Regions from separate parts of the Homo sapiens genome. Here regions 1 and 3 are each linked to region 2. The links are contacts of gene promoters, found by promoter capture Hi-C in blood cells and fetal thymus (Javierre and others, 2016). All regions are on one chromosome and are shown on one strand. Each heading gives the region's core, a stretch centred on a gene start or on the middle of the fragment in contact. The rest is flanking DNA. Distances are from core to core; before and after follow the strand shown. Region 1 overlaps LOC439933 (a long non-coding RNA gene). Region 2 holds the start of TBC1D1 (TBC1 domain family member 1). Region 3 overlaps DTHD1 (death domain containing 1).

The links. Contacts are between HindIII fragments. The CHiCAGO score rates a contact against its expected background, and 5 or more counts as called.
Region 1: a fragment that was not itself captured here is called in contact with the fragment with the promoter of TBC1D1 in region 2 in 2 of 17 cell types (M2 macrophages and M1 macrophages); the score reaches 9.0 in M2 macrophages.
Region 3: a fragment that was not itself captured here is called in contact with the fragment with the promoter of TBC1D1 in region 2 in 1 of 17 cell types (M2 macrophages); the score reaches 5.3 in M2 macrophages.

What each region holds. Positions count from the first base shown.
Region 1 is chr4:36,264,471-36,268,943 of GRCh38, reverse strand. The region is part of intron 3 of LOC439933 (a long non-coding RNA gene); the gene reads right to left. Among named protein-coding and RNA genes, the nearest start is that of DTHD1, 15 kb to the left of the region's middle. The HindIII fragment of the contact is 787 bases long and covers 1,254-2,040 here.
Region 2 is chr4:37,889,006-37,893,284 of GRCh38, reverse strand. TBC1D1 (TBC1 domain family member 1) reads right to left here and starts at 2,201. Exons shown (of 22, transcript NM_001396959.1): 1 at 1,937-2,201. RefSeq lists enhancers at 54-333, 764-893 and silencers at 594-643, 1,673-2,172, 2,493-2,682. The HindIII fragment of the contact is 15,185 bases long and covers 1-4,279 here.
Region 3 is chr4:36,325,892-36,330,649 of GRCh38, reverse strand. All of the region lies in intron 8 of DTHD1 (death domain containing 1), which reads right to left. Among named protein-coding and RNA genes, the nearest start is that of DTHD1, 47 kb to the right of the region's middle. The HindIII fragment of the contact is 4,071 bases long and covers 1,405-4,758 here.

The DNA.
Region 1 (4,473 bases), core at 398-2,897, 1.6 Mb after region 2:
AGGTGTTCCTGGGATTTTTACCTCTGCTGTATATTACTTGCTAATGCAACTTTTCCCCTATGTTTACTCTCAAATGACTTTCTTGGATACAAAAAGGAGAAAACATAGTAGTATATATTATCAGATAATTACTTCTAGCCCCTTTCAGCCGAATCTTGAGATTGGAAGTTTGGATCCCTTACAAGTCTTCAGAAAAGTCTTTTATGCTGTGGCTGATTGCATTAACTACACAAGATACAGTTTCCTTTGAGGTTTTGAAAGATACATTTTTTGGAGAGCCTCAATACTGAGGTAAAATATAGCTTATAGCACTTCATAAGATCAGGCTGAAAGGACTTCTCACAAGTAGACAATTCTATTTCAATATTTTTGAAGAAAACAAGAGCAACCACCATAAACAGCTAAACAAAACACCAGAAATATAACAAATATCAGTGGCATCTAAGTATACATATAGAGTTATACACACATTCTATCATAAATTCCATGTCTTATGGAGAAATAAAATTCATCCATTTTGGTGAATGCTAATAACTCCCACTTTAGACACTAAGCTTATCAAGATAACATAAAAGCATGTTTATTTACCAGATGTTTGCTAAGCATCTACTATGTGCTTTCACATTTGTGTGCCTACTCTTCTAGGCACTGAGAAGAAAAGTTTCATTTCTCAGGCAGCTGAAATTAAAGTATGTATCTTACGTCATGTTTGTGTAGGTTAGCCTACATGGCACAGCTAGCTAGCTAACTATGTTAGTTGGACTTAAATAAACACATTTCTATTGCTATGTAATCTGCCCATATCATATAATTTTGTTTGGAGATCAAATTAATGCTACAGGTAAATAAATACTCAACCTGTTGCAGCATGCAAAGACTATCTGATATTTCACAACAAAGTTAATGCCAAGGTCCTTCAGATGGTATTGCTCTATCATGACTGCTAGAATGAAGTAATTGGTAACAGCTATGCTTGAAACAAAGCAAATTGCTGTATTTCTAAATAGTTACTGAGTCTATTCTTTGTTGTTGTCAAGCTTAGAATCTTTTTTGCACAATATATACCAAAACAGTATGTTTTTAAGCTGGTTATATAATAGTTTCACAGAGCTACTATAATGACTAAGAAATTGTAGATGCTTTTGTTTCATTTTTTCTCCCAAAATGAATTAGCTCTTTTGACTGGTTAAGGATCCATTTTCATGACGTCAGACCACTGAATGGAATTTTGAGTTCTTAGAACTTCAAAAGCTTCATTATCTGATGTAACATTCAAATCTAATTTGAAAGGAAATGCTTCATTACAGTCCATGTCCTCAGCATGTCTTTGTAAAGAGAAAAGAGTTAGGAAACTTCCTCTTGCATAGTCACCTCTTAATGTCATTCTTGAATGTGTTCTCCTATGATAATTAGATGTTTAAATATTGAAATAGAATAAGTTTAAATTCAGAAGAAATCATACAATTCCAGAGCTAAAAATGATCCCTTAGGTCTTCCTAGTCCAACCCTCATACTTTATGAATGGAGATACCGAGGGAAGAGCTAGCTGGCTCTCATGATACTACAGAACCAGATCTGTAACCAATCAGCTTCGTGTTCCAGTGCTGCTACCTGACACAGGTTAAACAAAAAGATCCATTCCTTTAAATAAAAAGCATGAGATGTAAATTCGCATGCTTGCTTGAATTGAAACTATTAAATTTTTCACAACTCCCTTCAGTATTCTTTCTTTTTTTGTTCTTTTTTTTAGAGATGAGGGTCTTGCTTTGTTGCCCTGGCTGGAGTGCAGTGACACAATCATACTTCACTGCTGCCTCAAATTCCTAGGCTCAAGTGATCTACCCGCCTCAGCCTCTTAAAATCCTGAGATTACATTCTTGAGCCACACCACCTGGCCTGTTTATTTCTAAAACTTCATCAGTGATTTTTAATCATGGTTTGGGCATAGTAAACATTGATATATACGTACATGTATAATTTATTTAAAATTTTATAGCCTACTTATTTCCATCCCCTCTAAAAAATCCAACTATTTAAGCTTACCTAAAATAAACTCACAAACAATATAAGTACTACTAATAAAGTTTTACAAATAAAAAATTATACAGGGAAAAGAGAAAAAGAATTACTAGGAAAGTGGAAACATCATTCTTAAGCATTGACCTTCACACTGAGTTTCCTGGCCATCAAGGCAATGGCAGAATAAAGTCTTAGTCCCATTTTTAGATGAAAGGAGGTATAAAACATTTCTGCCAGGGAGAGAAAAGGGGAGGTAGCTGGGAAAGGCTTGGTTTGAACTTGGTTGAAGAATAAAAAGAGGGAAGGAAGAAATGAAGGAAAGGGAAGGAAGGAAGGAAGGGAGGGAGGGAAGGAGGGAGGGAGGGAGGAATGAAGGAAGGAAATTTGAATGGGAGCATTTTAGATGGACCCTGCAGTTTTAAGGAGTGATCAACCTAGCCATCCGGGAGGTATCAGGTACTGAATTACAGATGATTTTAGCATCTAGATCTTTATGTAAAGGATTATTAATATAATGAACAAGGTCTCCAAAAGAGGCTTTGAAAAAGCATCAATATTTCTTTCTGGTTCTTATATTGAATCCAGTGAAAGCATTTGAAAATTAAACTGTCTTCCTGGGAACTAATTTTCTTTTAGGCAATAGAGTACTAACTTAGCATATTCTTGATCATCTCAATGGAAGCTGAAATAGAAGATAAAGCAATGGAAGAAAGGAAGATGAGCTTATCCTTTATAGTCTTATTCAAATATTAGATCAACTATGCTTTGGGCCAGAATAAGTGTCAGTCCATTCAATGTTGCATTATATACAGTGAGGTGAAGCGTATCTTCACCTACTCGGATTTCCTGGAACTTGGAAAACTTGCTATATTTTCTCAGATACTCTTTCAGAGATAACTTCACTCTAGACAAAAGACTAGTGGAAGTGAGTGAGAACATAGGCATGGAACAGGTAAATTTCCATGGATGTTCATCCGTGTGGTCTCAGGACAACTGGATTTTCCCATTCTAAGTACACTTTCCAGACATAGCCTGGCTTCTGTTAGGGAAGGAAGGGTATGTGAACTATGAGTGTAAACTCTATATAAAGAAACTCTTATCTTGAAACTCTATGTGGTGAAAAAAAAGGTCTAGAATTAGCACCCAGGCAGTTTTGTTGGTCTAATCAAATTATAGAGGTCAATTTTTCTAAATTAATTATTTGTTTATTAACTTTCCTTTTTTTCCCTCTTTGGTTCTAGACCTTATTTTCTTAGTGTGCTAACATTTTTCTTTCGCAGTTGTGTTCATCCATGTCATCCAAGAAGCAAATAGCTGTACCAGATTAAACATGTAAGAAATTTATTAAGGGAACTGCCAGAGAGAGAAAAGGGGTGGGAGCTGGGAAAGGCTTGGTCTGACCTTGGTTAAAAAAGAAAAACAGGAAAGGAAGGAATAAAGGAAAGAAGGAAGGAAGCAAGGAAGGAAGTTAATTTTGGTGGAATCATTTTAAATGGGTCCTGCAGCCCTGCGGTTTTAAGAAAAGATCAACATAGCCATCTGGGAGGTCTCAAGCCAAAAATCTCTACTCACAAAGGACTTCTGGGTTTCCCAGCAACACACCTGCCTTGGTGTCACTGCCACACCCAGACATTGGCTGAGAGCCAAGGAGAAACTGTGGTCCTAAAGCAACTGAGGCAATGAGTTCCAGAGCTTAGCAGCTAGAGGCATTGGTTAGTTACACTCTCAGCAGTCAGGGGTCCGAGATGCACATTCTCATGGGAGCCACAGCAATATGCATATTATTGCTTTAATGCACTTTGAGCAAGTTAATCATATTACTTCCCATTTTTGTCTATTTGTTTAATATAGAATAATTAAAATCATTTTTTGAATATTCAGTAGGTGACTTGTTAAAAGCTTTCCATGCATTATGTTATTTCATCTTCTCAAATACCCTGTTATGAGTCCCATTTTACAGATTACTTAGTTCATTTTCTTACACGAACAGGCTATGATACACTATTACATTATCTTGGTAAAACTAAGAACTACGTTTCCCAGAATCCCCTCACCTATATAGTCCCTTACCAATATAGAGTTAGTGAACAGAAAAGCTTGCAAAAGATTTGAAAATTGGAAGTGACACAGCAGACAATAGTCTGTGAAAGCTGTTTTGCAGTCTGAGGAGGTAATGGATAGATTAGTGGTGCTCAGTAGATTCCAGTGTGCCTTCTTTCTCTGCTCTGCTACTAGGTCTTCCTCCAGCCTACTGGCCCTAAAGATCAATGCTGGCCTCAAGACATACTTCCAGACATTTGGCTGTGGACCCCTAGAGTTGTAGAGTTGGTCTCTGCAGGGAGCACTTCCTATGGGCTCCCCTTTGTGGCTCAAATTTAGCAACTGAATATACTTGGCTTCTCAGATTAGCTCCTTGCTAATTTCTTTTCTGATCCTTTAACTCATCCTCCCACA
Region 2 (4,279 bases), core at 952-3,451:
AGAGAAATGCTGTGGAGAGAGTAGGAAGGACTTCAGGGAGCTGCCATTCTGTCAGATCAAATTAAAAGCATGTTCAAAGACAGAATCCTCTTGAGCCCCTTGCTCTCCTCCCTACCATCTACTCTAGAAAGCTGGTGGCCAACAGAGCAGGCAGCTGTGGTGCCTGCTCCAGGCACCAAGACAACTGAAGATGCTGCTGTGAACACAGAAGAGGTAACAGCCATGCTGCTTGATTCAGGCTCCCCACTGCTTGCCAGGGTTACATCCTAGAAGATCCTAGAAGATCTGGACCACAAAAAAGCCACCCGCCCACATCTGGCTCTGCATAGGGGTACATCTCATTGTCATTGCAGCCTTCCTGGTCAAAGCTGTCTTCTAGGGAAGTGGGGGACAGGGATTATCACCAGCTGGATAATGAGGAAGAAGGGGCAAGCTCTGTTGCTTCAGAGTTGCACGTTTCCTCCTAATACCCACTAGTGTTTTGACAAACTGTGCCTTATGGGACACCAGGTCAACACTGCATGACTGCCACCCAACCAGAAATGCTGTCGTGGTGAAAAGGGGAAGCCCCAGCACTCTCAGTGGGGTAGATAACAATAGACTATGACAAGGAGACGCATTTGCAAAATTTTCCTTTGAAAACGTAATGTAATAATTTATAACTACACTAGTGATTTTTTTTCCTATTCTCCTGGTTTGCAAATGGCTGGACAAATCCACAGGAAAGAAATTATTTTAATTATCACCTGATGATTTTATTTCCTGCTTTGAACCACTTAGTCCCTTCCAGGTCTCCTTGCACTCAATAGTGTTAGAATGCTCTACTTGTGTTCACTTCAGAAAATGTCCCCTAAACTCTTTTTTTTTAAGAGATGGGATCTCACTTTGTCACCCAGGCTCCAGTGAGGTGGCACAGTCATAGCTCACTATGGCCTCGAACTCCTGGGCTCAAGTGATCCTCCTGCCTCAGCCTCCCAAGTAGCTGGGACTACAGGTGGGTGCCACCACCCCTAGCTCATTGAAAAAGTTTAGAAGTTTGAACTTGTACAGATAGCTGAGTTTCTTGGGTGTGACCTATTTAAACCAGGTCATTTTTAAATGCTCTTTCAAAGTCTGATTTTATTAATAAATGAAATCATCCCATCATAAGGGAAACAATGAGAAATCTATGAAGGGAAAACATATCCATTAATATGAGGCACCCTGAAAATTAAACTGTTTGGTGGAAGGAACAACCATCACTTTCAATTTCTTTTTAAAGCAACTTCCAGAGAATAAGCTATGTTAAGTAAAATCAAAACAGGAAAAGCCACATCTAGGTGGATTTCAAACGAAATGATACCTCTCTGAAAAAAAAGCAAAAACAAAACCTTAATGCCTGGTGAAGTTTGAGGGGGGTCTCATAATCACAGAGCCATCAGGAAGCGGCTAGAAACAATGAAGCAGGGTTTCAAAATGACTGGTACAGGATGTACCCATAGAAAGAAATGTTGCGCGCACTGGTGGAGCTGCCAAAGTTACTACTGCAAAGTACCCTGAACTTTTAAAGCGTGGCTTGGGGTCACTCTGACCACACTCTTTCCAATCTGGTCGCCTTGCAAACACGCTAGGATAATTGGCGGGAGGGGGGAGGGGAGAGATGCGCGGACCAGTGAGCTGGCGGGGGTTGGGGGAGAAGCCGGCGGAGCTCTCGGGTCGCTAGCAACATTAAGGTTTCGCTTTCGTCCAAGGGCGGCGGGGGTGGGGGGGTAAGGGGGGCAACGAGATGGCAATGAACTTCCTCCCCCGAGAGACCCTGGCCTCGCGTCCGTGGGCGGCCAGATGCCTTCCCCTCCGCGGCCAGGCGGGGCAGGGGCGTGCTGCGGGAGGGGGCGGCCGCGACGCCCCGAGAGGAGCCAGCAGGGTGGCCAGGACGAAGCCCCAGGAAGCGCCTTACCTGTGCCGCGGCGCGCTCAGAGCCCGGGGCCGGGCCGGGACGCGCAGGTGCTTGGGGGCATCCTGGGGACGGCCTGGGCGGGCGGGGAGTCCATCGCACCCGGCTGGCTGCGCTCTTCCCGCCGCGGGGGGACGGGGAGGGGGCTCCCCTCGGCTCGGCGCCCGCCTCTTCTCCACCCAGCTGAGGACACAGCAGGTCCCGCGGCGGCGGCAGCAACAGGCACCGGCGGACGGTGGCGGCACCAGGAGCAGCAGCCGAAGAGGAGGAGGAGGAGGAGGAGGAAGAAGAGGAGGAGAAGGAGGAGGTGTCTGCGCGCGGCTCTGGTTTCCTCCTCCCAGCCTGGGCGAGCGCGCTGGAGGCGAGGGGAAGACAGGAGCCGGGATCTCCCCACTCGGTCCCCGGGGAGCTGGGAGGGGGACTCGGTGTCCTCCTCCTCCCCACTGCGCCGTGTGACTGTGCCTGGGCAGCACGGCCCGGACGGGCGAGTCACACGCGAGCAACAGCTGCTGCACTGCGGGTCCGCCGCGGCCTCCCTCCCCTCCTTGCCACCCCCCGCCCCCAAGCCCGCGGGCCATCCTCAGCCAGTGTCTGTGGGGGGAATAGGGGGGAAGTACTCGGGCCGCCGCCCCATCCAGACCCCTGCGCAGGATCTGGGCACAGCGTTTCCCTGGGGAGCCGGGGGCGCGGGGCCCCGCGCGTGATGCAGGCCCTCGTGGCGGGATGTACAGTCGCACACCCTGTCCTTGGCGGCCTATTTATAGCAGGTGGCACTGCCCGCCGCTTGCTCGGCCTGAGTGGCTCTCAGCAGGTGGCACTGCCTGCCCGCTCTCCGCGCTCCCGAAGGCGCCTCGCCTCATCTGCACCCTCCTCTTCTCCCTCCGAAACAGACGTGGTGGAAACTGCACACAACATGGGGGGCGGGGGCCGGGGGCGACCAAGCCACCTTGCTCTCCCCCGCCTTACCCCTTCTCCCCGTCCTTGGAGGATGGCAAGAGGTGAACTGAGGCACGGATGCCCTATGGGGCGCTGGCATGCGAGGCAGGAAAATCAGGGACTCTGGGAAACAACGAAGGCGAAGTGCCCTCCCGGGATTAAACACCAGGAAACTCCATTTCTAACCAATTGCGGGAGTGACGCAGAGCCTGGATTAGGCGCTTTTTCCTGCCCCGCGAGCCCGGCACACGCGCAGGAACACACACCACACGCACACGCACACCCCAGTGTGCATGCCCCGATCAGGTCTGGGGACATTCCCAGCGGTGATGTAGAGTGCAAGGAAAGACGCGGAGATGTGAAAAGCGGGACAGAGCTCGCTCCCTAAGACTAGGGGATGGCAGTGTGCAAAAAACAGGCGAAGCTCCCAGATCCCTATCCCACCAGGCACAGAGGCGCAACGTCACTCGCAGGGTGGGGAGAGGGATCTGAGAAAAGTAAGAAGCATCACATCCTCTCCAGAGAAGAGTCCGCAGGGAGGGGAGAGCCGGGTGCTCGGAGGAGGCAGTTCCAGACCCCCAGGTGGCATCTTTCTGGATTTTTTTACTTAATGTAGCTGGGGGTGGACTTTAGGGAAGTGGCTGAGCGTTTGAGCTGTACGGTTGGACTTGAATCCAAATCCCAGCAGGTGTGGTTTAGGCAAGGTGCTGGACCTCTGGTCTTCATTGTCTTACCTGCTAAATGGGACCAATACACACCTTACAGGATCTTTGTGAGGACAAAGCAGGAAAGTGTAAGTAAAGTGGCCAGTGCAGTGACACAGACGTACATGGTCCTCAACTAAAAGCAGCAGCTATTATCAATATTACTGTGGCCCAGGAGGCAAATAGAGGGCCAGGTTTCCTCATCGTACCAAGAGCAGTGTCTTCCTTGAAGCCCACTGAGCTTCTTGTAGGCTTTTAGATTAGGGCTGTCTTATGGCATTCCCTGATTTCCCTGGATGCTTACATCCAGGGGAGGTATTTTTAAGTGGACCCAAGAGTTTTATTCACAGCTTGACTTAAAACTCTCACAATAGTGGTAGCTATTCTTTACGGAGGAGTTAGTCGATTTGGGGTATTGTGCTAGATACTGTCCTTATATATTGTTGCTAATTTGCTCAAAAACTCTGCAGGGCAAAGATTGTTAAATCCATTTGACTAAGGAGAAAAGTAAGAGGTTAGTGCCTACAGGGTTAGTGGGTGCTGGAATCTCCAAGATCCAAAGCCCTTTATAATATACTTGCTCTCTGGCCACTGTGTAGCCCTCAGCTCATTCTTTGTCATTGAGTAGTTATTTGTGTGCATAGCCTCAACTCTTTTTTAAGAAATATACAGTCATAAATACTGTAATGAGTAGAATGTTAACTGG
Region 3 (4,758 bases), core at 2,191-4,690, 1.6 Mb after region 2:
AGTCATGAAACTGAGGTCTGTCTGAAGCTCTAACAATAAATAATACTTCCTCCAGATAATAATACCAGCTACTATAATTGCCATGTACCAGGAATTACTCTAAAAACTTGAAGTATGTTATAGAACCTTGAAGTATAATATGGCATATAGTCCAGCATAAACATACACACCCATCCTTGTGAGGTTATTATGCCTATTATACAGACAAGGAAACAAATTTAGAAAGATAAAATTATTTGACTAAAACATACATGCTAAATGACAAATATGACATTTAAACTGACATCAGTAAGAATCCAGATCCTGTTTAAATTAACATTTGTATGTAACATGAAGGTTGTAATGTGGAACTTTCCACTCAGTCACTTCAGTACCTCTGGCACTACGCTTACTATTTACATATATCAATTTTACTGACTTGACAGTAGTATTAGATGGAGGTAAAGAGCTCAACTCCTAACATATTCATTAAACTCGTACCCTTAAGCAAAGTAATCTCTTGTGCCTCAGTCTCCTCCTTTTAAAAGTAAGCATATACAATGCCATTAGAAAGATGCATTGAGTTATATCATGTATCTGAAATTAGGGTATCATATGTAATAAGTGCTCAAAATAGTACCAGTTATTACTTAATATAGTTTTAAAACATATTTGTTGCCTACATAAATACGTTTTAAAAGAAACACTTCTATTTAAACCATAAGTGGGAAAACAATTTCATCTATATAAATACTAGAAAACCTTAAAAATACAATTAAAACATAACAATATTATTAAATTCGGTTGCCAGCCAAGATCTCTGAACCCAAGAGCTATTCTCTGTCAAAAAGAAAGCTTTGCAATTGTTAAGGAGATGTGAAAACATGTTAACAACAACCTGAGTTCTACTCAGATTAGAGAAAAGTTTAAAAAGAGAACATTGTTTCACTGTTTCGATTCCTTTTTATTTAAAACTGGTGTGTATATTGTACTAAAACAGCACCTGCAATTCCAAAATTTGGGAAACAGCAGTATAAGCAAGCATACCTTTTATTTGCTGTGAGTCATATCATTCAGTATAAACTTATATGAGAAGTATTTTTGTCTTTCAAAACTGTACAGATAACATTTTAGGGGGTATGAATGATAAGTCATAAACAAAATGCAAGGAGCATGAACTCATAACTTAAGCTGGAAAAAACTGGAGCTGTCCTGCTCAAGGAACGGCTGTCATCTCTGCTCTGACAATGAACTAAGAGCTGATGTCACCATATGGATAGAACAGAAAAACACTAAACTATTCAGAAGTGGCAAAGTATTCAAAATCAAGATGGCTGAGGAAGCCAGCTTCTGACTCAGGAGCTGAAAATTTTAGGTAAAGAGAAAAACCACTATCCAAGGCTACAGAAGTTCTATTCCAAAGCTTAGTTTCGGCAAAGGGTACTACCCTCCCTCCTAACTGGCTCTTTGAAAGATCTAGATTTGCCAAACCCTCTAAAGGTACAAAGGAAATGACAGGCGGTATGACATAGTGGTAAAAGTGGTGGACGTAAGGAAAACAAGGATCTGGCTTGCCCAAGGAATAGAAGGAAGCTGGTAAAGCATAAAAGAAAAACAACCTTGTAGTCTGGGTCCTCATGCGGGCTCTACTCCTGTGAAGTCCTACAAGCTGAGCCAATAAACTAAACTTTCTTACTGAAGTCTCTAACTGACTGAGATAATGTCTACAAATGACAGGGCCTACATCAGTAATTCATCAAATGAACCCACATGTGATGTGTAGGCCCTGATTGGACATTGTTTTTGAACAAATCAACTGCAAAAAGAAAAAAAATATTGAGTCAGTAGGAAAATAGGGAATAGGGGCTGGGCAGTAGCTGATATAGTGTAGTAATTACTAATTTTATTGGGTGTAGCAATAGTAATGTGGTCATGTGTCTTTTTTTAAAGTTTTTACCTCTTAGAGAAGCATTGTGAAGTCTTTACACATAAAATGATATTGCACCTGTGATTTGCTTTAAAATACTCCAACAAAACAAACCCACAAACCAGGGTACTAGACAAAATAAGTATGGCAGAAAGTGATGGGAGGTGTGTCCATGTAGGTTCATTGTATATTTTCTCTGTTTTTGTGTGTATTTAAGTATTTGCGCGTGCTTACGTGCATGCCCACAGGCATGCACACGTGGACACACACACACGGTTTTTTTTCTAAATAAGTACATTAAAAGATCGTAGTACCAGCATCCACCAATAATCTGCTGTTGTCTTCGTGAACTTTCTTATAATTACACAGTGTAGAACTTCCTGAAAACCTAGGCAGAAACGTTTGGCCCTCAAAATAAAAGGAAGTACCTCCACATAGAGAGGTCTGGAAATCAGCACAAATCCACAGAGAAGTAAGATTGCTGTGGAACAAAATAAGAACAGAGTTTAGAGCAAGAAGTGCTGACCAATAGTGGTCTCACTTGGAGGTAAATACAGAAATTCGATTTGGAAACAAAATCAGGCTACTACCAATCATGGAAGCAGTGTAGTTCTGTAGCTTTGTTTAGCTCAGATCTTTGCTTCAAACCCATGCACATTTTTTTATGCAGCCAGCTTTATATTTTGCTTCTTCATTATTTTTTCAGTTGCTTGCTTCTTAGAAAATCACTCTTTCATAACATCAATCTCTTTATAGTTTTTTCAAGGGGAGGGGGGATTGATAAATTTCTCAGTCCTTGATTGGACAAAAGAAGACAGCTTTAGGCCCCTGGTAACCAGATGGATGAATTCAAATAACTCCAAAGAATCTAAGGAGTGGAGACAGATAGAAGGAAGGGGCATCCAGGAATGTGTACAGATATAAAGTGGGCAAAGATCTAGATATTTCAGAAAATATAAATGGAATATATATGGAAGCAGTGAAGAAAAATTATCAAAAGCAGTCTGGAATAGATAAATCTGATTTCTAAATGCATGTCTCTATCTTCATTTTTTACCTACTAAATGGGCAAAGTAGGTGCACCACATGAGGTTGCCATGAGGATTAAATGACGTAATGCACATAAAGCACTTCAAACATGCAAGCGCTCCATAAATCTAAATAATCGTTAAAATGCATAAGACTTTGCTCAGTATTCCAAGTAATTTTGTCAAGAGCAGATATCCTTGACCCATAAATGCAGCTACGTGGAAGACGCTATTACTTCTTAAAGCAGCTCAACAAATCAAAGAAAGATATACAGCATTGCCAGAACTTGCATTAATATTAACCTCCTCTCTTTATTGTTCCACTTTTAGATTATAATACCCACAGGTTTTGTCACTCCACTTTAATCCTGTCCCTATTTATTCCTGTGCCTATTTAACTCTTAGCATAATTCTTTCTAGGTTATTATAGCAGATTTAAAAAAATCCTGGGCCAGGCGCGGTGGCTCACACCTGTAATCCCCGCATTTTGGGAGGCCAAGGCAGGTGGATCACCTGAGGTCAGGAGTTCGAGACCAGTCTGACCAATATGGTGAAACCCTGTCTCTACTAAAAACACAAAAATTAGTCAGGCGAGGTGGCAGGCACCTGTAATCCTAGCTACTTGGGAGGCTGAGACAGGAGAATTGCTTGAACCCAGTAGGCAGAGGTTGCAGTGAGATGAGATCATGCCACTGCACTCCGGTCTGGGTGACAGAGCGAGACTCCGTCTGAAGAAAGAAAAAAAAAAAAAAAGAAAAACAAATCCTTGTTTTGGTTTGGCTTTTTGGATCATAGCTAGAAATAGTTTTTCCAATAGAAAGAGTAATCTGAATGTTTCTGGGAAAGGCCTGGACAGCCACACACAAAATGTCACCCTCCCAGGTCTTGCCACAGTGTGTGAAATCCTATTAGTCATTCCTTTAAAGTCATGAAAGGCTTCTGCTAAATGCAACTGCTAGATGGGAAGAAAACAGGTAAGGCTTCTGTCAGCTATTAAAACTCCACCTTCAATTGCTTTTTCAATTTCCCCAGCATGCTTTCATTTATTCATTAAAGAGTTCAGCAAAACATTATTGAATGCATCCTCGGGGAAGGGATTACAAAATTGAATGAGCAGTGCTCTCAACCCTGAGGAACTCAGTCTCAAAAGCAGACAGTAGAGTATAATGTTAGGAGTGTTGCCATTGAAATCAGACAAACTTGGTTTCAAACAGTAGTTTTGCCATTTCCCCTTGGGGAAAACCTCTATATGCTTCAGTTTCTTAAATGAAGAAACTTTTATTTAAGGTTTTTTTTTTTTTCAATAAATAAGTTAATGTGTAAATGCTTTGTCAAGTTACTAGCAGGGAATAATTTAGTAGGTATTCATCATTATTATCATTACCATGATTTTTATATAAATAAAAATTATAATGGACCATATGTTTATATATATAATATATATGTTATATATATATTCAAAGTGCTTTAGTTACAGATACAGTGCAGTGTCTAATACTTCCTGGAAAACTTAAAGACTGCTCCTAAAGAGGGGATAATAGGGTTAAGTGTGGAGTCATTGCTGTCACAATGGCAGCCCGTGGGAAGAGTCTTGAAGAGAAGTGAGGCTTTAAGTAGAACTGGAGCAAAATATGTTAGTTGGGGAAATGTAATATAAAAAGGTTATGACGATGAGCTGTGGGAGTTTGCAATGGGCCCTATATGCCACGGTAACTGGCTTGGACTTTTAATCAATAGACATCCAATGAGAAGTTTTGGAAGAGTGATGAAATCATATTTGTTTTTGAGAAAAATCAAGCTGTCAATTGTGAGGAAGGCAGCCTA